7 separate regions of the Homo sapiens genome follow, and regions 2, 3, 4, 5, 6 and 7 are each linked to region 1. The links are contacts of gene promoters, found by promoter capture Hi-C in blood cells and fetal thymus (Javierre and others, 2016). All regions are on one chromosome and are shown on one strand. Each heading gives the region's core, a stretch centred on a gene start or on the middle of the fragment in contact. The rest is flanking DNA. Distances are from core to core; before and after follow the strand shown. Region 1 holds the start of PAPPA (pappalysin 1). Region 2 overlaps ASTN2 (astrotactin 2). Region 3 overlaps ASTN2 (astrotactin 2). Region 4 overlaps ASTN2 (astrotactin 2). Region 5 overlaps ASTN2 (astrotactin 2). Region 6 overlaps ASTN2 (astrotactin 2). Region 7 overlaps ASTN2 (astrotactin 2).

The links. Contacts are between HindIII fragments. The CHiCAGO score rates a contact against its expected background, and 5 or more counts as called.
Region 2: a contact is called between a fragment that was not itself captured here and the fragment with the promoter of PAPPA in region 1, in 2 of 17 cell types (M2 macrophages and M1 macrophages). The highest score is 11.4, in M2 macrophages.
Region 3: a fragment that was not itself captured here is called in contact with the fragment with the promoter of PAPPA in region 1 in 2 of 17 cell types (M2 macrophages and M1 macrophages); the score reaches 6.9 in M2 macrophages.
Region 4: a fragment that was not itself captured here is called in contact with the fragment with the promoter of PAPPA in region 1 in 5 of 17 cell types (M2 macrophages, M1 macrophages, megakaryocytes and 2 more); the score reaches 15.0 in M2 macrophages.
Region 5: a contact is called between a fragment that was not itself captured here and the fragment with the promoter of PAPPA in region 1, in 1 of 17 cell types (M2 macrophages). The highest score is 6.2, in M2 macrophages.
Region 6: a fragment that was not itself captured here is called in contact with the fragment with the promoter of PAPPA in region 1 in 1 of 17 cell types (M2 macrophages); the score reaches 6.3 in M2 macrophages.
Region 7: a fragment that was not itself captured here is called in contact with the fragment with the promoter of PAPPA in region 1 in 4 of 17 cell types (M2 macrophages, M1 macrophages, megakaryocytes and 1 more); the score reaches 9.1 in M2 macrophages.

Annotation. Positions count from the first base shown.
Region 1 is chr9:116,152,291-116,155,100 of GRCh38, reverse strand. PAPPA (pappalysin 1) reads right to left here and starts at 1,310. Exons shown (of 22, transcript NM_002581.5): 1 at 514-1,310. The coding sequence starts at 928. The HindIII fragment of the contact is 9,307 bases long and covers 1-2,810 here.
Region 2 is chr9:116,487,712-116,490,411 of GRCh38, reverse strand. All of the region lies in intron 19 of ASTN2 (astrotactin 2), which reads left to right. Among named protein-coding and RNA genes, the nearest start is that of ASTN2-AS1, 15 kb to the left of the region's middle. The HindIII fragment of the contact is 6,694 bases long and covers 1-2,700 here.
Region 3 is chr9:116,623,060-116,625,759 of GRCh38, reverse strand. The region is part of intron 17 of ASTN2 (astrotactin 2); the gene reads left to right. All of the region lies in intron 1 of LOC105376240 (a long non-coding RNA gene), which reads right to left. Among named protein-coding and RNA genes, the nearest start is that of TRIM32, 63 kb to the left of the region's middle. The HindIII fragment of the contact is 4,425 bases long and covers 1-2,700 here.
Region 4 is chr9:116,642,484-116,645,276 of GRCh38, reverse strand. The region is part of intron 17 of ASTN2 (astrotactin 2); the gene reads left to right. It overlaps LOC105376240 (a long non-coding RNA gene), which reads right to left. Exons shown (of 3, transcript XR_930277.3): 3 at 980-1,064. Among named protein-coding and RNA genes, the nearest start is that of TRIM32, 43 kb to the left of the region's middle. The HindIII fragment of the contact is 676 bases long and covers 1,034-1,709 here.
Region 5 is chr9:116,524,301-116,527,083 of GRCh38, reverse strand. The region is part of intron 19 of ASTN2 (astrotactin 2); the gene reads left to right. All of the region lies in intron 1 of ASTN2-AS1 (ASTN2 antisense RNA 1), which reads right to left. Among named protein-coding and RNA genes, the nearest start is that of ASTN2-AS1, 21 kb to the right of the region's middle. The HindIII fragment of the contact is 1,896 bases long and covers 327-2,222 here.
Region 6 is chr9:116,592,651-116,595,420 of GRCh38, reverse strand. The region is part of intron 19 of ASTN2 (astrotactin 2); the gene reads left to right. Among named protein-coding and RNA genes, the nearest start is that of ASTN2-AS1, 90 kb to the right of the region's middle. The HindIII fragment of the contact is 5,700 bases long and covers 1-2,770 here.
Region 7 is chr9:116,557,091-116,559,844 of GRCh38, reverse strand. All of the region lies in intron 19 of ASTN2 (astrotactin 2), which reads left to right. ASTN2-AS1 (ASTN2 antisense RNA 1) reads right to left here. Exons shown (of 12, transcript NR_033973.1): 11 at 2,195-2,238. Among named protein-coding and RNA genes, the nearest start is that of ASTN2-AS1, 54 kb to the right of the region's middle. The HindIII fragment of the contact is 4,648 bases long and covers 1-2,754 here.

The sequences.
Region 1 (2,810 bases), core at 61-2,560:
TTTGGGGCACTTCGAGGACTTCTAAGTCCTGGCCATTACAACAACCTTGCCCTTGCCGGCTTTCAGGGGAATGGGGCCTAATGAAGGGGAGTTACCTCCATTAAAACGTCAAAGAAATCAACGGTCCCCAAGTCTCCTTTCACATGCATCTCAATTGGGTCATCCTCCCTTTCATCCCAAAAGGAGAGAGTGCATCTGACCATTCGGAGCACGGGTTACGTGCCCTAGGCTCCGGGAACCAGCCCTCACTGGCCGAGGGTCCGCGGGGCCGCCAGGAGGGCTCCCCAGGTTCCTCCCAGGGATGGAGCAGCTACGCCTTCCGAGTGTGCCCATTCCACCGATGGAGCAAAGTGAGGCTCTCAGCTCGCCCGGATGTCTCTGCGCCGCTCGCGGGGCAGCTCTCGCACAGACACGCCCGCAAGCCCCCGACCCGCCCGCCACCCGCGCCCAGACACCCGCGAGCCTCTGGGGCCGCAGGGACGGTGCAGCGCCCGCCGAGGCGCCCTCACCTACCTGTGATCACTGCCGGAGACCTCTGGCCCCCCTCCGCTCGCAGCCACACTTGCAGCGTGAACGCGTCCCGGGGCAGCTCGAGGTCGGCCCGGAGGCGCAGCTGCTCGCCTCGCCCGCTGAAATAGAGCGCCCGGCTCGGCGGGCTCGGCTCCTCGGTGGCGCCCCTCGCCTCCCGCTGCTGCCGCCGCCGGGGGACGCGCACGGCTTCCCAGGCACCGCCCGGCGGCGGCGGCGGCGGCGGCGAGGCGCGGCGGCCGCGGGCCGCCCGGGTGGCGCAGGTGGCCGGGCCGGCGGCGGGGCGCGGGGGTCGGCCGGCCCGCGGGTCTCTCCGGGCCCGGCGGGGACGCTCGGCCAGCCCGCAGCCCAGCGCGGCGCTCAGCAGCCCCAGGTGCAGCACCCAACTCCAGAGCCGCATGTCCGACGGTTCCCCCCGCCCCCCCTTCGCCCCTGCACCGCCACCCGGAGCTGCCAGCTTTGGGAGCCTCGGCGCCTCGACTTTCTTCGCTTCTTCACCCTTCTTGGGCGAGCCCCCCTTTCCACTTGCTTTTTTCTTTTCTTTCTCGCTTTCCTCCTCAAGGTGTGTGCTCCACTCTCCCCACCTTTGAAAAATACAGCCCAACTCCTCCTGGTTGGCAATTAATTTCTCTCCCCGCTCCTTTATCTGCCTTATTTTTCCCCTAACAGCTGGTTGCCTTCCTCCTTGTTTTATTTCATTTTATTTTATATGATTTCTCGCTCCAAAAAAAAGCTCCTCTTAAGACTGATCCGCTGAATTCCCTCCCCCCAAAAGATGCTCTAATTTATTTATTTTTTGCGTCCTTTATAACACAAGCCACAGCCCCCTTCTCCCCCCCCAAGTCCCCCCTCCCCTCCCTCCTTCTTCTCAAAATGAAAGGAAAGAGGGGGAAAAAATCCCTCAGAAGATGAGTAAACAAGCGTATGCTAATCTGCTCCCCAGCGCTCCACCTTCCCAATTGAATGAGTCCCTGTTAAAACTGCGGGGATCATGACTAATCAATCAGTTTGGAGAGGCCGAGCTATCCAGCTTTCCTTCACTTTGCCTTTTGCCTCCTTTCCTTCGCTCCCGCTTCTCCACCACCCCCTCCTTTTCTCTCTCTCTCTCTCTCTCTTTTTTTTTTTTTTTTTTTAAGGAGACAATCTTAAAGTAACAATTTAATGAAATTCTGTACACACCCCCTTACGGTCCTCCCAGCTCTCATTCCTGCTCAAAACACACATTCCTGTTTTTGTTTTGTTTTGCTTGCTTTTTTTCCCTCCCTCACTCCCCCCACTTATTATTATTATTTCTGATGGCAGGAGAAAAATCTGTCTCTTCTCTTAGGATCCCCTTTGCACTTTGCTGGTAAACCTCATCCTTTTCTGTAGCACATAAAGAGTCTTGAAACTTGATTCTTAGATTTTTTTTTTTAATTCTCTCTCTCTGTCTCTCCCTCCCTCCCTCTCCCTCTCTTTCTCTTTTTCTCACTCTCTCCCTTACTCTTCTTCCCGCTTCCTCTCCCTTTACCTCTTTCCCTCTTCTTTTCCCTGTCCTTTTCCCTCTCAGAATTTCCTTAAAGTTGTACGATGATGAACCATTCCCCTCTTTTCTGAGCCCCCAGATAAGGCTGGCTTCAGCTAACCCAAATGTTTCCAAAGTTCTTATGGAATCATCAGAAGAAAATAGAAGAAAGGCACTGTCCAGGACATCTGCCTTTCAGAAGCTGTAGTCCTAGTACAACTGGGTCTCTGAATTTCCCCGAATACTCTTTAAAATACTCTGTTGGTCATTAGAAATTATTTTAATTTTATAAGAAGAAAATGAGAGAAAAATATTAATTTGCCTAATGTTTTCAACTTAAGCAATTCAGGTCCTCTGAAATTGTTAAAGTCACAGGTAAGGATCTGACCATTTGCTGCTTTGTAGGTCTGTTTTTGAACTGGGACATACATGTAATATATTTTTTTCTTCTTTTTTCCCCCTCTTTATAGAACTCAAAAGCTCCCCCTTATGGCAAAACAGATCTTCTTTTATTTTGTCCAAGTGTTTAATAAGTCAAAACATGTTAGCAATGGTGGATTACAAGCTATTAATTACCAATCTATTCCAATAAGGTAGTGATAAAAATATTCTGTGTGAAGTTTGCATGTGAATAGCGTGCTGAAAGTCTGCGATAAAATTAACTCCACTAAATTGTAACTTTCTTCTTCAATTGCTCTTATCTTCCGAGCTGCTCCAGATCTTTCTTGAGAGCTAGGAACATTGCTACACGCTTCAGGAAGAGAGAAAACCAAGGAAG
Region 2 (2,700 bases), core at 58-2,557, 340 kb before region 1:
CAGACTTGGAATCCTGAGTACCCAAGTGAAATAAGACCCTCACTCCATCTAGTGAATAATCTCATGTCTTTTCTCTCCCCTACCCTCACCCTCACCACCAATGCCCCCTTTTTTTTTTTTTTTTTTTTTTTTTTTTTTTACTTTTTATCACATACATTGCTCTGGAATTTGTGATATTTTTTGAAATGGACATATTGTTAGTTTCTGGTTGTACTATGAAAGAAACTGATATAAGAGGCCTACAGAAGAAATGTGGGATGCCAAAATTATGCTGAATAAAAGATTCATTCACATCTTCATTTTCCAGACAAACCTCTGGTTCTAGGCATCTTTGTTTCTTTCTAGACCCTTGGCTTTACTCTGTAGACTCCAAATGCATGAGAGTGCTGTTAACTCCTTGTAACAAAAAGAAAAATGGAGACATTGAGAAGTTTAAGGACTTGCAGCCCATGGTGGAATTAGTACTCAGTCTCAGGTCTGTCTTGCAGTGGCAGCTGAAATTGCCTGTTGCCAACACTACCCTGATTTAGACACTTGATCCTAAATCTAGCATCTACGCGTCAAGTCTATGAACCATGTATTGTCTTCGTGAAAAATAGAAACCAAGAAACAGTACCCATCAAGACCTGCTCTATTGGACTAAAGGAGCAAATACCTTCTAGAACTGTTGTTCGGCTGAATCCCAGGGCCATCTGGCCAATTCAGTCAGATAAGTCTTGCAAGATTCACTTGTGAGACGAAGAATGAAACTCTTCTTTTTAAAACTGTTTTTCTTTAAGAATGAAACTTTTGGGCCAGGCACAGTGACTCATGCCTATAATCTCAGCACTTTGGGAGGCCAAGGCTCAGTAGTTTGAGACCAGCCTGAGCAACAGGGTAAGACCCCATCTCTACAAAGAATACAAAAGTCAGCTGGGTGTGGTGGTGCATGCCTGTAGTACCAGCTATTTGGGAAGCTGAGGTGGGAGGACCTCTTGAGCCTGCGGGGCAGAGGCTTCAATGAGCTGAGGTTGCACCACTGCACTCCAGACTTGGCAACAGAATGAGACCCTGTCTCAAAAAAATTAAAATTAAAATTAAAAAATAAATAAATAAATAAAATAAAGAATGAAACTTTTCTTTGAAAGACCAACAGGAAGTGATCTGTATATTCTGCTCAACCAGTTCCTTGGTAGAGAAGCACCACCAAGCTGCTCTGAGTCCTAATCTTCTGAAACACGAGCCAACACTATTGTTCTTTTATGGTTTCATGACATTGTCTTGTTCTTAACCCCAGGTAGAGAGGATGTAATGGAGCTGGCACCCTTTTCTGGTTTATTAGTGGGGCTGTACATGAATAGAGCTCTGAGGAACTCTCTATCAGGCATGAAGAAAAGAAGAAAACAACAGTTGAGAGGCCTCATATCATTTTATACTGTGCGGTATAAAAATACCTCATATGTCAGTTTTTTTCCTAGATCATCCAATTTTAGAATTAGAGGGGAACTTAGAGGCCATTTAGTCTGGCCCATTTACTTTATCTATTTTTAAGTAATTTTTATTGATATTTTTATGGGTTACAAAAGCAATATATGTTTATTGAAGATAATTTTTAAAATAGAGATAAGCAAAAATAAGATAGAAAAAGTGCCCATTATGTCACTCTCCAGACAGTCCACCTTAAACATTTGTTTTTATTTTCTTCCTTCTGTTTTTAAATGCATGTGCATATAAAATTTCTACAAAAATGAGATTATTTTGTAATAGTGTAACCTGTTTTTAACTTCACATTATGTCATAAATATCCTTTCATATTCTTTCACAGATTATTTTTAATGACTATAAAATAGCCTATTGCATCATTGAACTCAATTGATATAGCCATTTCTATGTAGTTGGACATTTAGCTGTTTCTACATTCTTGCTAGTATAAATAGTACTGCGATGTTTATCCTTATAACTTAATTTTTGTTCATATCTGTATTTTTATTTTATTTTTTTCAAGAATCCTAACAATGATTCTGGCACCTTCACCATGCAGAGGAGAAAACTGAAGCACAAAAAATGAGGATTTAGTTGCCCAAGACTATACAGCAAATTCTCAACAGAACTAAGACTAGATCCCAAGAGTCTAGATGTTCAGTTATTCTTTCTAGTTTTCTTTACTTCCTAGACTTCTTTATTAGTTCTGTTTCTAGTAAACTTCCACTACTTCTTAAAATCCAATGGTTAGATTTAAAGTAAATTAAAGAAGTGATGGAGTTTGAGGATCACAAATATGTGGCACATAGTCTCCCATTGTTCCATCCTGTACATGGTGAACGTTCCATGACATCATGTACATCCTGTACATGGTGAAGGTTCCATGACCTTCATCACTAATCAATCACAGAACTCTTTACTCCTTAGCTGGTCTCTGTCCATCTCACTATAACACTCCATGAATCCAGTACCCATGCCTAACAGTGGCAATTTGACATGAAAATTATTTTACATCTTTAGTCCAGTTCCTTCATTATACAAAGAAGGAAAATGCAATTCTAAGAGAGAAGAGCTTTGCTCAAGGAGTTAACAGGGAGTGAATAACAGTGACAAGGCCAGAATAGTTACAGAAAAAAAAAAGCATAATATCCTTGCTACCTTTTCATAAATTTTTATTACACAATAATTTACCTCATTTGAGTCTTGCTACAATCTTATAAAGGTAGGTATTAGTGTTTC
Region 3 (2,700 bases), core at 44-2,543, 470 kb before region 1:
CTTGTGGGTATGAAATAGTGCATGCACTACTGTAAGAAGTTGGCATGTGCTAGATCACAGAGAGGGGTGCAGGGGGGTTGAGATGGGAGAAGAGTCATAAGCTGAAGAACAAAGGAGGTTGAATCAGTGGAGGCTTTAACCAGAAAGTGTGGAACATTCAAAAGGCTCCAAGCAAGAGGTGTTTTAGAAAGCTGTGAGAGGACATGCTGGAGAAGGCAACATGAGAGTGGGGAGACTAGTCCAAAGGCCACGGCAAGTGCCTATAGAATGGGCGGCACCAGGGAGACAGCAATGGGGCCAGAGTGGGGAGGGTTTCTTTATTTTTTCCAAGATGGAGTCTTGCTGTCGCCCAGGCTGGAGTGCAGTAGCGCAATCTCAGCTCACTGCAACCTCCACCTCCCGGGTTCAAGCTATTCTCCTTCCTCAGCCTCCCGAGTAACTGTGATTACAGGCACCCACCACCACACCTGACTAAGTTTTGTATTTTTAGTAGAGTAGAGATGGGGTTCCACCATGTTGGCCAGGCTGGTCTCGAACTCCTGACCTCGTGATCCACCCGCCTCGGCCTTCCAAAGTGCTGGGATTACAGGTGTGAGCCACTGTGCCCAGCTGGGAGGTTGGTTTTGAGATGCCTTATAAGGTAGAGGGTTGACCACCACTTTTTGGCTAGAAGCACCAAACTGACATGGGAGATACAAGTAATCCTGGGGAAGAAGAGGATCACAAACATGCACACACATTTTCTTTGCTTTTATCATTTATTTGGTTTGTTTTATTCAGCATTCCATGTGAACTTTTAATTCAACAAACATTGACTGCCTTATGTTAAATGCTAGATACTGTGTTTGGCCCTAAAATGGAGCCAGTGGGTAAAAAGATAATAGATTTTTTTTTTTTCTCTAGAAAGCCTTTTCCCGCTTCATTTGTTATGGGTTGAGCAGCCATATGACCAAGTTTGTTAATACCGTGGAGATGAAATCCATTAGGCATTAATAAGGACTTCAGAGCATCTTTTTGGAGTCATACAGACCAGAACCATCTTAGTATCAAAAATAACTGACTTGGTATTAGCACATGAAAATATTTTTTAGTGTAAAAATTACAGTCATTTGAAGTATAGAGTGTGGAATTTAATTCATGGGCTTAGTGACATTCTGTGTAGATGTTTCTAAATATCTTAAGTAGAGGGTGTTTACCTAAAGTTTAAAATTCCTAAGATATTGTCATAGTTTTAGAGCTAGAAGAGCCCCCTTCCTTCTGTATTCTCATAGCCTTCTATGTGTATTACTTCATAGCATTTGAACTATAGTAATTGTAATTGTTTGTGTGTGTCTCTTTGCTAATAAGCCACGGATCCTTTGAAGTTAGTGACTTGGTCTTGTTCATTCCCTTTCTTAGTTTCTGGAAGGCACAAGGTATGAAGTAGGAAGTTCAGTGAATGTGTACTGAACTTAAACCTTAGAAAACATATCTTCTACCCCCTCATTTGGAGATAGGGAAATTGAGGTTAAGAACGAGGAATCTTTTATGCAAGTTCAAAAAGGAAAGTAACAAGAGAGTCAGAAATACATCCTAGTTTTTTTTGATTGCTTAATATTTTTGTGGCTGTTTTCTCCTGTTGCCCAGCTTGGTTTGCTAGCTAATTAGCCAGAAGTTGGAAGCGTTTACAAGTCATGGAAATGCAAACCTTCGTTATGAAAACCAATGGCCATGCAAATGTAGCCATTAAGTACAGAATTTGTTTCTTAGGTCCCTCTACTTATTCAAAAACTAGGAGGCAATAATGCCTCCAGTATAAGGTTTCATTTTCTCTCAAACACACAGAGACACATACGCATGCAAACAACACATGCACACACATAAGCACATGACCCAAGCAGAGTGGCTGAACAGGATATTTTGGATCAAATCTTGGCATTTATTCTTCCTGTGTGACCTACTAAGGTCAAGGGTACAAGGATTCAAATGGGCTTTAGTTCAAGTCCCTCCCTGCTCCTGCACGCTTTTCTGTAAGTGGGTATTGAGCATCCATTTCAATGGGTAATTTTGAGCACTTAACGGAGGGATAGAGTAGTTTCATCGTGAAGTTGTTCTATCACCTTGGTCCAGCAAACTAGCATCTCTGGGTCACTGTATCTGCATCTGTGAAACGGATTAGGTTACATGATTTACAGAGTCCTGTGAAGCTGGAACATTCTATGATTTTCCTCCCCCGGGATCTAATTGGACTCTGGATGGAGTGTTGCAAGGACAGAAGAGGTAAGGAAAGAGTGATCCTGCATTGACACAGTGCTGGCTTCTGCAGCCTTATGAGGACTCCCTGTTTGATGCTGGCCTTTTATCAGGGTGTGTTTGTGTTCTAACCAGTGTTTGCCTGGCCATTGCACCAGTCCCCATTCTGTTCCTCGGGGTTTTGGGAAAGAGCCAGTGGATGTGGATTCTTACAGGCAGGATTTCTTCCCAAGAACTGCCTGGATGGTGAAACTTATGAAGTCCAGAGAGATTTCCTGTTTTGTTTTCCACAAGCTCAAGTTCCTATTTATTACAAAAACCAAACACACACACACACACACACACACACACACACACACACACACACACACACACACACAGAGTATGCTCTCTCTCTTCCCATTGCTGGGGTCCAGTGCAACCTTCCCATCTGTGTCACTTTCACCCATGGCCCTGGGTTTCACCGTT
Region 4 (2,793 bases), core at 122-2,621, 490 kb before region 1:
AGAGCTTGGCTCAGCACAACTGGTGCTTAAATGTACAAGACTTTGTGTGGTTGTTAACTTAGCTCCTGGGTGAAAGAGAGTCTTCCAAGTGGAGGAGGCAGAGGAGTGGCATACTAAAGAGCCAGACAGAGTTGGATTTGAATCCCTTCTCTGCCATTTACTGTCTATGTGATCTGACTTTTACTTATTTGTAAAGTAGGCAATCTAGTATTTATCCCTTTTCATCTCAGGGTTGGGAGTTTTCTTTGGGAAAACTAGAAAACGGAGACACTAGGAATCTGAACTAGGCTCTGTCCTTGATTATTATATGACATTGGACATGCTTCTACTGTCTAGGTCTCCATTTCTTTATCTGTATGATGAGAAAAGCAGGCTAACTTCATCCAAGGTCCCCTTTGGCACTGTGATAAGGTCAGCTCTAACTTCTACCCAGAATATAAAGCAAATCTTTTGAGGTTGGAAGAGGCATCCTGTGACCTGAAATTTGTTTCCCATTCAGAGACAATGCCAATTTTACTCCTTAAATTTAATACTGGGAGGAGAAAGATATACATATCTTGCACTCCATACCAGTGGCACACAATGACATAGCATTTATGAGCAGATAGGGCTATTAAAATCTTATCCTGTTTATTTTACAAATCAACCTCTTTATTTTACAGATAGTAAAACTAAGAACAGAGCTGAGGACTGAGTTTTTTCAGGTCACATAGCCAAGGCTGAATTTGAAGTAAGACATGCCTTCAACCCTTGGAAATATCTTTTATTTTTCCAAGGCTCAGTTTTCTCATCTGGGAAATGGGTGGTGGTAACTTTCCCCACAGCTGTCTGTAGAAAAATTAAGAGACTTTCAATGTTTTGAAGGCTGTAAAATACTCTGTAGATCTGAATGGTTCTTTCCAGCCCTCGGGTTTTCAGACTTCCAATCCTGTGAGCATTTTCTGTTCATGCTGCTCTAGGAAGAGTCATGTGTAATTCTAGTCTTGTGGTTGTCTGACCTTCCAGCAGATTCTTTCTCTCTGCCAGAAAAGCTTGTTTGTTTCATTTCCACTTTTTGGCTCCAACTGAGAAGAGAATTCCAAATAACTACTCTTTGAAGAGAAATTAACAGCCAAGTCTCACCCCCTCCCCCAGTTATTACCAGTACCTACCATCACTACAACCATGACCACTACCGCCACCACTATGCTACACCACTACTATCACTACCAGCATCACCCTCGCTATAGCCCCATCACTGTGATTATCTTGCATTGGTTGCCTACTGTGTGCCAGATACTGTGTTAGAAAATGTGCTATAGAGAGGAACAAGACACAGACTGTGCCTTCAAGGAGCACACAGTCTAGTAACAAGGACACATATGCTACTATAATTACTTACATATGCTACACAAATGCATGATTTATTTTTGAATAGTGCAATAGACATTCCAATAGTGTTAGAAGAGAGAAAGAAACTCTGAGAGGGAGAATCTGGAAACAATTCTTAAAGAAGGGAAGGTGGATATGGGCACATAGTAGAACTGCAAAGCAAGTTTTTTGATGATGAAGACAATAATATCCATCAGATACATATATATGTACTATGTGCCAAAAACTGTGCTAAGGACTTTACATGCTTTATCTAATTTAATCATCCAACAACTTATGAGGGAAGTACTATTATTATCCTTATCTAACAGATAAGGAGATGGAACCCCAGAGAAGCTTGAACCCAGGTCTGTAAGATTTCAAAGCTAGTCTAGACCAAAGTTGGAAAACTATGGCCCATGGGCCACATCCAGCCTGCTTCCTATTTTTATAAATCAAGTCTATGAAACATAGCCACATATCTTGATTTACGTATCATCTATAACTGCTTTCCTGCTGCAACAGCAGAATTAAGTAGTAGCTACAGAAAACAGTATGGGGTGCAAAGCTCAAAGTGTTTACTTTCTAGTCCTTTACAGGAAAGGTTTGCCAAACCCCGGTCTAGACTAAGCAATATTGGAAAAGCAGGAGACAGAAAAATGTGTCAATACTATGTGCTGAGCATGTAGAATAGAAGAATAGAAGAATAAAACCTAACAATTATCGAGTGCCAACTATGTGCCTGGCATTTAAAAAAGTGCTTCATGTGTATTTATATATGTTCTCTTACTCTGTCCCCCTACAACACATTTGAAGTATTCACTATTATGCTTACTTTACAAATTAAAAAACAAAAACCTGAGACTTCAGAGAGGTGAATAATTTACTTAAGATAACATGGCTAGTGAATTGTGGGGTGAGAATTCAAACCCAGAATGTCTGAGTCCAAAGCTTTTGTGTTCAGTCAGCCATTCTTGCAACAGGCCTGAAAGATTTGGTAGAAATAAAACTGGAAAAGGGATAGGCAGAAGGCTGCATTGTGGGCAACTTTGAATGCCATGTTGTAAAATTCGGGTGCTGTGCAAACCATATAGAGTCTTTCAAGATTGTAGGTCAAGGAAAAATATAACTAGATTTGAGTCTTAGAGTAGCAACTATAGCAACAGAAGATGAATTGCGGGGACCAGGACTGATTTTATGGCAAGGGTTGTTAATTTGGCATTTGGGGATCCTTGACTTTATAGGATCTTTGGATGCTCATCCCTAGAAAGTTTTTGCAGAATTATACATTACTTATATTTTTCTCCTGGAGAATAGATCCATATTCTTGACTCAAATGTTGTAGAATACTAAACTAAGAGGGTCAGTGTCAGTTAGATGGGGGGTATATGTATGAGATGGCTGAAGAGTGAGAATTCCATTTACATCATTTGAACAAGTATT
Region 5 (2,783 bases), core at 25-2,524, 370 kb before region 1:
TTTATAGTTTCAGGTCTTATATTTAAGTCTTTGCTTCATTTTGAGTTGACTTTTGTACATGATGTGAGAGTCCAATTTTATTCTTCTGAATGTCAATATCCAGCTTTCCCAGCACCGTTTATTGAAGACACTGTCCTTTCTCTGTTGTGTATTCTTGGCTCCTTTGTTGAAAATTAGTTGGCTGTAAATGTGTGGATTTATTTCTGGACTTGCTATTCTGTTTCATTGGTCTTTGTGTCATCAGACATTCTCTAATCACTTGCTTTGGGCCAGAATTGGATCTGAGCATCTAGGATACAGATATCGGGCTGAGCTCATCAGAAGCTTAAACAAATCTGCTAGGGATGCATACTAAAAATCATGATGAATCAAAAATTGTATTTCTGAAACTAAAATTTACTTTCGCAGTATTTCTGAAACTAAAATTTACTTTCACATCTTTTGTCACTTTTTTTTTTTTTTGAGACAAGTTCTTTCTCTTTTGCCCAGGCTGGAGTGCAGTGGCATGATCTCAGCTCACTGCAACTTCTGACCCCTGGGTTCAAGCAGTTTTCCCACCTGAGTCTCTCAAGTGGCTGGGATTACAGGCATGAGCCACTGTACCTAGCTAATTTTTTGTTGTTCTTGTATTTTTAGTAGATACGGGGTTTTACCATGTTGGCCAGGCTGCTCTCAAACTCCTGGCCTCAAGTGATCCTCCCACCTTGGCCGCCCAAAGTGCTGGGATTACAGGCATGAGCCACCGTGCCCAGTCTTTTGTCACATTTACTACTCACACCAACCCCACAGAGTAGGTATGATTATTCCCATATTACAGGCAAGGAAAGAGGGGCTTTTAGCTGTTTCCATAATGTGGTGCACATGCATATAGAAGAAACTGGAGCATATATGTGAATATGAACCTTCTTTTATCCTTTTTGTGAAAGAAATCAACACCAAATAACAGAGGTTGGGTCTGGATTAGAGAAGAACAAATGAAGTGGGCTGTGAGGAGGTTTTGGATAACAGAGGTCTTCCTAGAGAAGATGGCACTTGAGCCGGACCTTAGAAATGAGTAGGATGTCAATAAGAAGGACTGTAATGGGGACAGGCAAGAGGATAAGGTGAAATGATCTACCAAGTTGAGGGAATAGCATAGGAAAAAGCAGAGAGGTGTGAAATTGGGAGGTCTGTTTGTGAATGAATCTGTAAGGGATGGTTTGTGGAGAGAGTGGGTCTGGAATGGTGAGTGGGATTGCATTATTTAGGGTGACTGTAAAGAGCTTTGACATTTTTCTCAGGCCCATGGATAATTATTAACGACCTTTCAACAAGGAGACAGTATAGTAGGAGTTTTGCTTAAGCTGGCACCTGCAGGATAAAGGAGTGAGAAGGCACACTGGGAATTCTCAATACTTCTTCTGCCACTGCTATTGAAGGCAGGTGGCTTGCTTAATAATTCTCCTGTGCCTGCTGCCCCAGGTTACCACAATCACTCAAATTCATGGACCACTATTAGAGATGAGATGCATAGCTTTTGGATGTGAGTTTCAATCTGATGCTTGATTATATATATGACAGTGGCCAAAAAGGGCAGAAGCCATCTGTGGTGCAAAGGCTCTCAGACTGGATGAGGGGAGGGCCGATGAGGAAGTCCTAACTCCTAAGAAGTCACCTGCTCCCATGCTCTGGTGCTTCCTCCTATGCCACATCTTCCACCCTGCAGCCTACGCTCTGTTGGGAGGGCCCCAAGAAGGAGCATGATCTACAGCACATACTGTCCACATGTGTTCCAAAAAGTCAGGTCACCTCTTGAATCCTTTACTGCTTAGACATTTCTTCTGTCAGAGATACTCTAAATCATTTATGTAAAGTTCAAAGTTCCACAGATCCCTAGGACAGGGACAAAATGCCACCAGTTTATTTGCTAAAGCATAGCAAGAGTGACCTTTGCTCCAGTTCCCAATAAGTTCCTCATCTCCGTCTGAGACAACCTTGTCTTGGACTTCATTGTCCATATTACTATCAGCATTTCAGTCAAAACCATTCAACAAGTCTCTAGGAAGTTTCAAACTTTTCCACATATCCCTGTCTTCTTCTGTGCCCTCCAAACTATTCCAAGCTCTGCCTGTTACCCAGTTCCAAAGTCACTTCCACATTTTCAGGTATCTTTATACCAGTGCTCCACTTCTCCTCTTCAGTTCTCTTTTTGTTGGAGCTTATGAATTTTGGAAGTTGAAGCTTTTTTGGATCAGAGATGCCTAGGCTGCTTAGAGACAGAACAGGCATATCTCTACAGAGAGGAATGGGTACCTTGGCCATGTAACCCTGAGAAGGAATGCCAACTTTCATGTGAAAGTCATGTGAGGGGCTCACATCCCAGCAGATCAGAAAGGTACTAATAAGTTTTCAACATTGTACAGGGAACTTTATGGTTTTCAAAGTGATTCTGCCAACATTTCAGTTCACAAAACACCAAGGGAGTACGAGTTTTTATGCCTTTTGGGCAGGGAAGGAAACTGAGACTCAGAGAGTTTAAGGGTCATTCAACTCAGAGCAGGAAAGCTGAACTGGAACTCATGTCATCTTGCTCCAAATATAGAGCTCTTTCCATTACACCAGGCTGCCTCTCAGAAAGCAGTGAAAGCCTGCAAGGGAAAGGTGTTTCTGGCACCTTTGCACGGAAGGGAACTCTGACCACATTTTCCCATGGAAACATTTTCACCTATGTTGGTTATGATCTATGGCTGAAATAGTAAAGTACTGTGTTTCAGCAGTATACTTGCCTTCCAGTCAATCGAGTT
Region 6 (2,770 bases), core at 97-2,596, 440 kb before region 1:
GGGAGGTGGAGGTTGTAGTGAGCCGAGATCACACCACTGCACTCCAGCCTGGGCAACAGAGTGAGACTCCGTCTCAACAACAACAACAGCAACAACAAGAATGAAGCAAGAGTAATGACATTTGTTAAGTACCTACACCATACCAGAAATTTTGTAAGCATTGTGGGAAGTGTAAAGCTATTAAAGGGAAAGAGAAGATAGTCAGCATTTATTGAACACCTAGATGCCAAGTTATCCTATATAATCATCAAAATTGTTCTGAAAATTAGTTAGTATTATCTTCATTTCACATGTGGGAAAACTCAGGTTTAGAGGGGGCATAGTCACTTACTTAAGGGCATAGAAGTATTAAGTTTGAACTTGAACCTAATTCTTTCTCACTCAGAAATTCTGCTCTTTATCCCTACTCTTGATGGCTTCCAAGGAATCCCTGAAGGGGAAATTATGTATGTATGTGTGTATGTATGTATGTACCTATGTATTTATTTATTTTAATAAAAGGAGAGGAGAGTATAATGAAAAAAACTTGAGGGGGATGTGCTTTTGGCTGAGGGTATGGGGACCATGCTAGGAGCTATTTTCAAGACAGAAATCATGGGAAGACTTAAGCTCTGAGCCAGGTCATATCCTGAGCCAGACACTGCGAGTCACCATGTTTCATACATTGGGTGCAGATGTTCTGTCATCAATGCATGATGAATCATGCCTTAGGAAGGTCAGATCTGGCTGTTCTGCAGCAGCTGAGCTTCTCAAAGGAGTTCTGGGCCCATAAAATAGGGAAGCAGAGGTGATGGAAATGACATCCAATGAGTACTGTTAACTGGCTGAACATAAAGTGACTGCAAAATCGAATGTCAGTGAGACTGGACTCTTCTGATGTTCCTCACCTACTATTAGCTACGTGGACAGTCTTGATAATTATATAGTTTATAAGTGAGGTTCTTCTCCACATGTAGAGTTGATACTAGTGGCTTGTATTTTAAAATTTATTTCTAGCTGACAAACAATTATTGACTACTAGTTCTAATTACTGGGGAAATTCCAGAGACAGGTCTAGCTGTAATTCAAGGTAGAAGATGTGTACTCATTCTGTTTTTGTTTTGATAACCCTAAAACAGAGCTTGAGCACAGATTAGGTAGGTATCCATAGGAAACAGTTATGAAGGATCATGAACAGGACCCAGAAGGGGAAAAAGCCAGTACAGGGATGTGTTCACAAGATTACTATTGATGTATTGAGGCTCTTGCTGGCTTAAAGATGCAAAGCTAGATTATGTCTTCTCTAGCTCCCTATCTCAATTGTTTAAAGATTGATGTTTCTTAAACTTCTAGGCTATACTTGCTCATATGAGCTGAGAGAGGTCCCACGGCATCATTGAAGGCCTTGGGGCAGGAAGTGCAAAGATATACCTGGCATATATTCAAGGAGGTAGGTCTTGGGGCAGCGCAAAGTGAGTTTGAACTCACATTGGAACTGTCCATTGCAATTGAGGCTGAAATCAGAGGCTAAGGATGTGCGGCCTTTGTGAATAAAGTGGGCTTTCATCTCAACCTGGAAGGATGGAAGGGATTTCAATAATAGAGAACAAGTAAGAGGAAATTCAGACAGATGGAAGAGCATAAAGCAAGAAAATCATGAAGATGGAAATGAAAGGTGTCTGGAGAAGTATAGAATGAGCAAGACTGGAATTCATGGTCAAGCGGATGAAAGCCTTGAAGGCTAGGTTATGATATCTGAAGTTGATTCTTTGGGCACTTGAGAGTGATGAAAGTTGTTTATGGGGCTAAGTTGTGATTAGAATACACTTCTCATTCTCAGTTAAGAATGGCTAGATGCAGGTGAACTATCACAGGTGGTTGTAGTATAGAGTAGGCTCTGCCAGACTTGGCTTGCATAGGATCTTGGCAGCAGAACAGAGGATATAATTTGGACAAGTGAAATGAAGGTAAAGATAAAAAGCAGGTTACCTCCCTTCAGACATTCTCTTCCTTTAACATACATGTGGAGAATGGCATTAGCATTCTACTCCACCAACTGGGACAGTTTGATAATTTTTATTAATGTGTGGCCTACTGAGTTACCTCAGCCTTCATCCATCAAGCCCTGTATCATGCCTTCGGCCCACGCCCAGTGCCTCAGAAGCCCATATATCATCCCTTCAGGCAGGGAAGCAGATTCCCTTTTATTTCCCTTGCAAAAGCACAGATGTTACCGCACCCAGCCTTGTCTGGGGTTCAGGCACTGCTTCTCCCTAAATGACCTCCTTGGAATCTTCATTCCCATTGCATTCCAGACAGACAGGCTTTTCTTTTGTTCCTTCACTCAAGAGCTGCCTCCACCCCACTCTTCCAATTCATGTGTCATGGGCAACATATTTGTGTTGCCACATCTGCCTTGTCCCAGCTGCTGAGTCCATTTGCAAGGCAGATATTAATGTTAATCATTGCCTGAAAAATTTTAGACCATGACATTCTGATGCACAGCTCATTGTTAGACTTCATCCACATCTCACCTTTATCACTGGGAGAAGGAAGGCAACATTATGAAGGGAAAAGATCCATGAATGGGTTGTAGGAGACTTGCTTCTAATGCTGAATCCCTTTGTGATCTTGAGATTCCCATCTATGGGCCTCAGTTTCTGTATCTGTGAAGTGAAGTGGTTGAATTCAGTCATCTTTGAGAGCTTTCTATCTCTAAGGTTGTATGACTTTCAGCCTTTAGGGATATTAAATGCATATAGTCACCCCTCTGTATCTGTGAGTTTTGCAT
Region 7 (2,754 bases), core at 53-2,552, 400 kb before region 1:
AGGCAGAGTAATATAAAGGCCACAAATACAGGTTCTTAAGTCAAACTTCCCAGGCTCAAATCCTGATTCTGTTACTTATTAGCTGTGTAACTTTGGACAAGTTCCTTAGGTTCCTTGAAGCTCAGCTTCCCAGGCAAAATAAGGAAATTAGTACTAAAGGTCCTTATCCAAAGTCCTTGGTATTAGATGTGATCAGGATTCAGAATTTCTTTTTGGATTTTTAGAAAGGCACTGCAGTGCATACACCATATATTTTGTAACATTCTCGTTGGATTCACAGACAACATCCCCATCATCATACTTCCTACTTCTGCAGTTAGACATGTACATACACAAACACACTAAGTTGAGAGTAAAGAAAAAAGACCATAGATCATAATTTAATTCAGAAAAGAATTATCTTCCAAATAAGTTGTGAAATAAACTGTGTATGTGCTTCAGCCTGTTTCTCAGCACCAGAAGCATAGGACTCTGCATAGAGATGTATTCAGCATATGTTTGTTGAATTTCCTCTCCCTAGATGATTTTCTCGTCCATCTGGTCTGATGAGATATCCAAGGTCTCAGCTCTCTAAATTGGTTTGTGGGACGGAATAAGGTTAGGGCAAGGGATTTACAGTGTAACAAATGCCCCAGAGTGGAGTTTCCAAGGGTCTTTCTGATTGCAACATTTAACACATATGGAAGAGGAGGGGAGATCTCCTCCAGTCCCACAGGTTGTAGGCTTCACCAGGAGGCAAGTTCCTTTGTCATTGCCTGGCAAGGAAGCACATAAAGTAGAGTCGGGTAAGAACTGCTTCCCTACCCTTGAATGTAATCTGCATAAAGGCAACAATCTGTTGCATGTTTTGCTGACTGGTATGTTCTAAGCACCAACAAGAGTGACTGGCTCATAGTAGACACTCAATAAATATTAAATGAACGAGAATGAGCATTTCTTAAGTATCTACCATGTGCCAGGCCATTTAGATAATTTATTTCGTTATCACATCATTCTTGTGTAGAAGGGTATATTCTCATATCCTTTTTACATCTGAGGAAACTGAGGCTCAGACAAACTCAAGCCCTGGCTTTTTCTTCTGTGTCTCACTGTATCAAGATGGGTGAACCTTGTGTCTGGTAGGTACTAAAGATTGAGGATGAGCTGAATGGTCTGAGAATATAGCCCTGTCAGAACCCGTGGCTTGACAAAAGCAAGCATCTCTGAGGAAACATGACTTTTCCGGACCTAAAATTCCTGGGCTGCTTGAGTCTACTTCTCTGAGTTGAACTTCCTGGGCCAAAGCAATGCCAAGTCATTGGCCTGTGGCTGTGCAGTGTCATCTTGCTGAGAAATGGCCCATGTCCTTCCATAAGCTCTCTTGGTCCCCAGAGGAAAAGGGAACCCTGTTATGTAATTCTGGCTCAGTCACTCACTGACTGCACTACCTTAAGCAAATCACTTTTTTCTTTTTCTCTTCAGTGCAGTTAAAAAAAAAAAAAGTAGTGACCATACTTGTCTTGCAGAGGTATGGAGAGAATCAGAGACAGAAAATGTAAAGGGTCTAGAGTAGATTCTGTCATATTAGTAAGCCCTCCTAAGTAGAAGCTGCTACTACTGCTGCTGTTTGTATTGTTATCTTATCTGAAAGTCTCCAGCTTGTCTGCAACATCACAGCTGAATTTTGGGACTCAAGATGGGGTGGGGGCTGTGTGCTGACATTAGTCTGAGAGTACTGTGTGGACAGGGACTCTGCCCTTCATCTCAGCACCCATGATATAGGATATGGTCCATAGTGGGATCACAGTACTCATTTGCTGAAAGAAAAGACTGATCAACAGGGTGGACATGGTCATTCTATTTCTATGCTTATAGCTCTGTAATGGGACTAGTGCAAAAAACAAAAATCGAACAATGTATATTCAATTACAGTCTCTTAGAACTGGGCAGTGCTTGAAGCAAATGCAAGTTCAGAGCTGTTGAAAACCCCAAGAACCACATGAGAGGTCTATGTTTGCTTGTTTGTTATGAAGTTTTATTTGTTTGTACTATCACTCTGCCTCTTTCATCCTGAGGGTTTATAATTGCTCAAAGACAGAAGATATTACATTCTTTATATACACGTAGGAAAAAGGTATGGAAATTACATGCCACAATGTCAAAAGAGTTTTTTTGAAGATCTTCCAAATTATAGTACTTTCACTTCTGTACCAACCTGTGGTTCCTTTAAGGACAATTTCCAAGCAGCCATGTCTCCATCTAAATTGAGAGCAAGAAGGACACATAAAGAAACTCGTGGCCATCCATCTCTTGGCATTTAGGAAGGGCCATAAAAGGGAAGGGAAATATTATTTATAGGCTTCTATTACCTGCTACATATCATGCTGTGTGCTATAAATACTTTCATTTAATCCAAGAATACTGCAAAAATTAGACACTTTCATTTAACTCAAGAATACTGAAAAGTTAGGCATCTCTCTTCCCATTTTACAAAAAAGAGACTGAGATATAGAAAAATTAAATATGTTCTCCCAAATAACATATCTAGGAAGTTGTAGTGATGTACTCTCAAAATTCTGTACTTTTAACCACTATATCACTGAATTTTTTCTTTTCTTTTTTTTTTTTTTTTTTTTTTTTTTGAGACAGAGTCTCGCTCTGTTGCCCAGGCTGGAGCACAGTGGCATGATATCAGCTCACTGCAAGTTCCACCTCCCAGGTTCACGCCATTCTCCTGCCTCAGCCTCCCGAGTAGCTGGGACTACAGGCACCCGC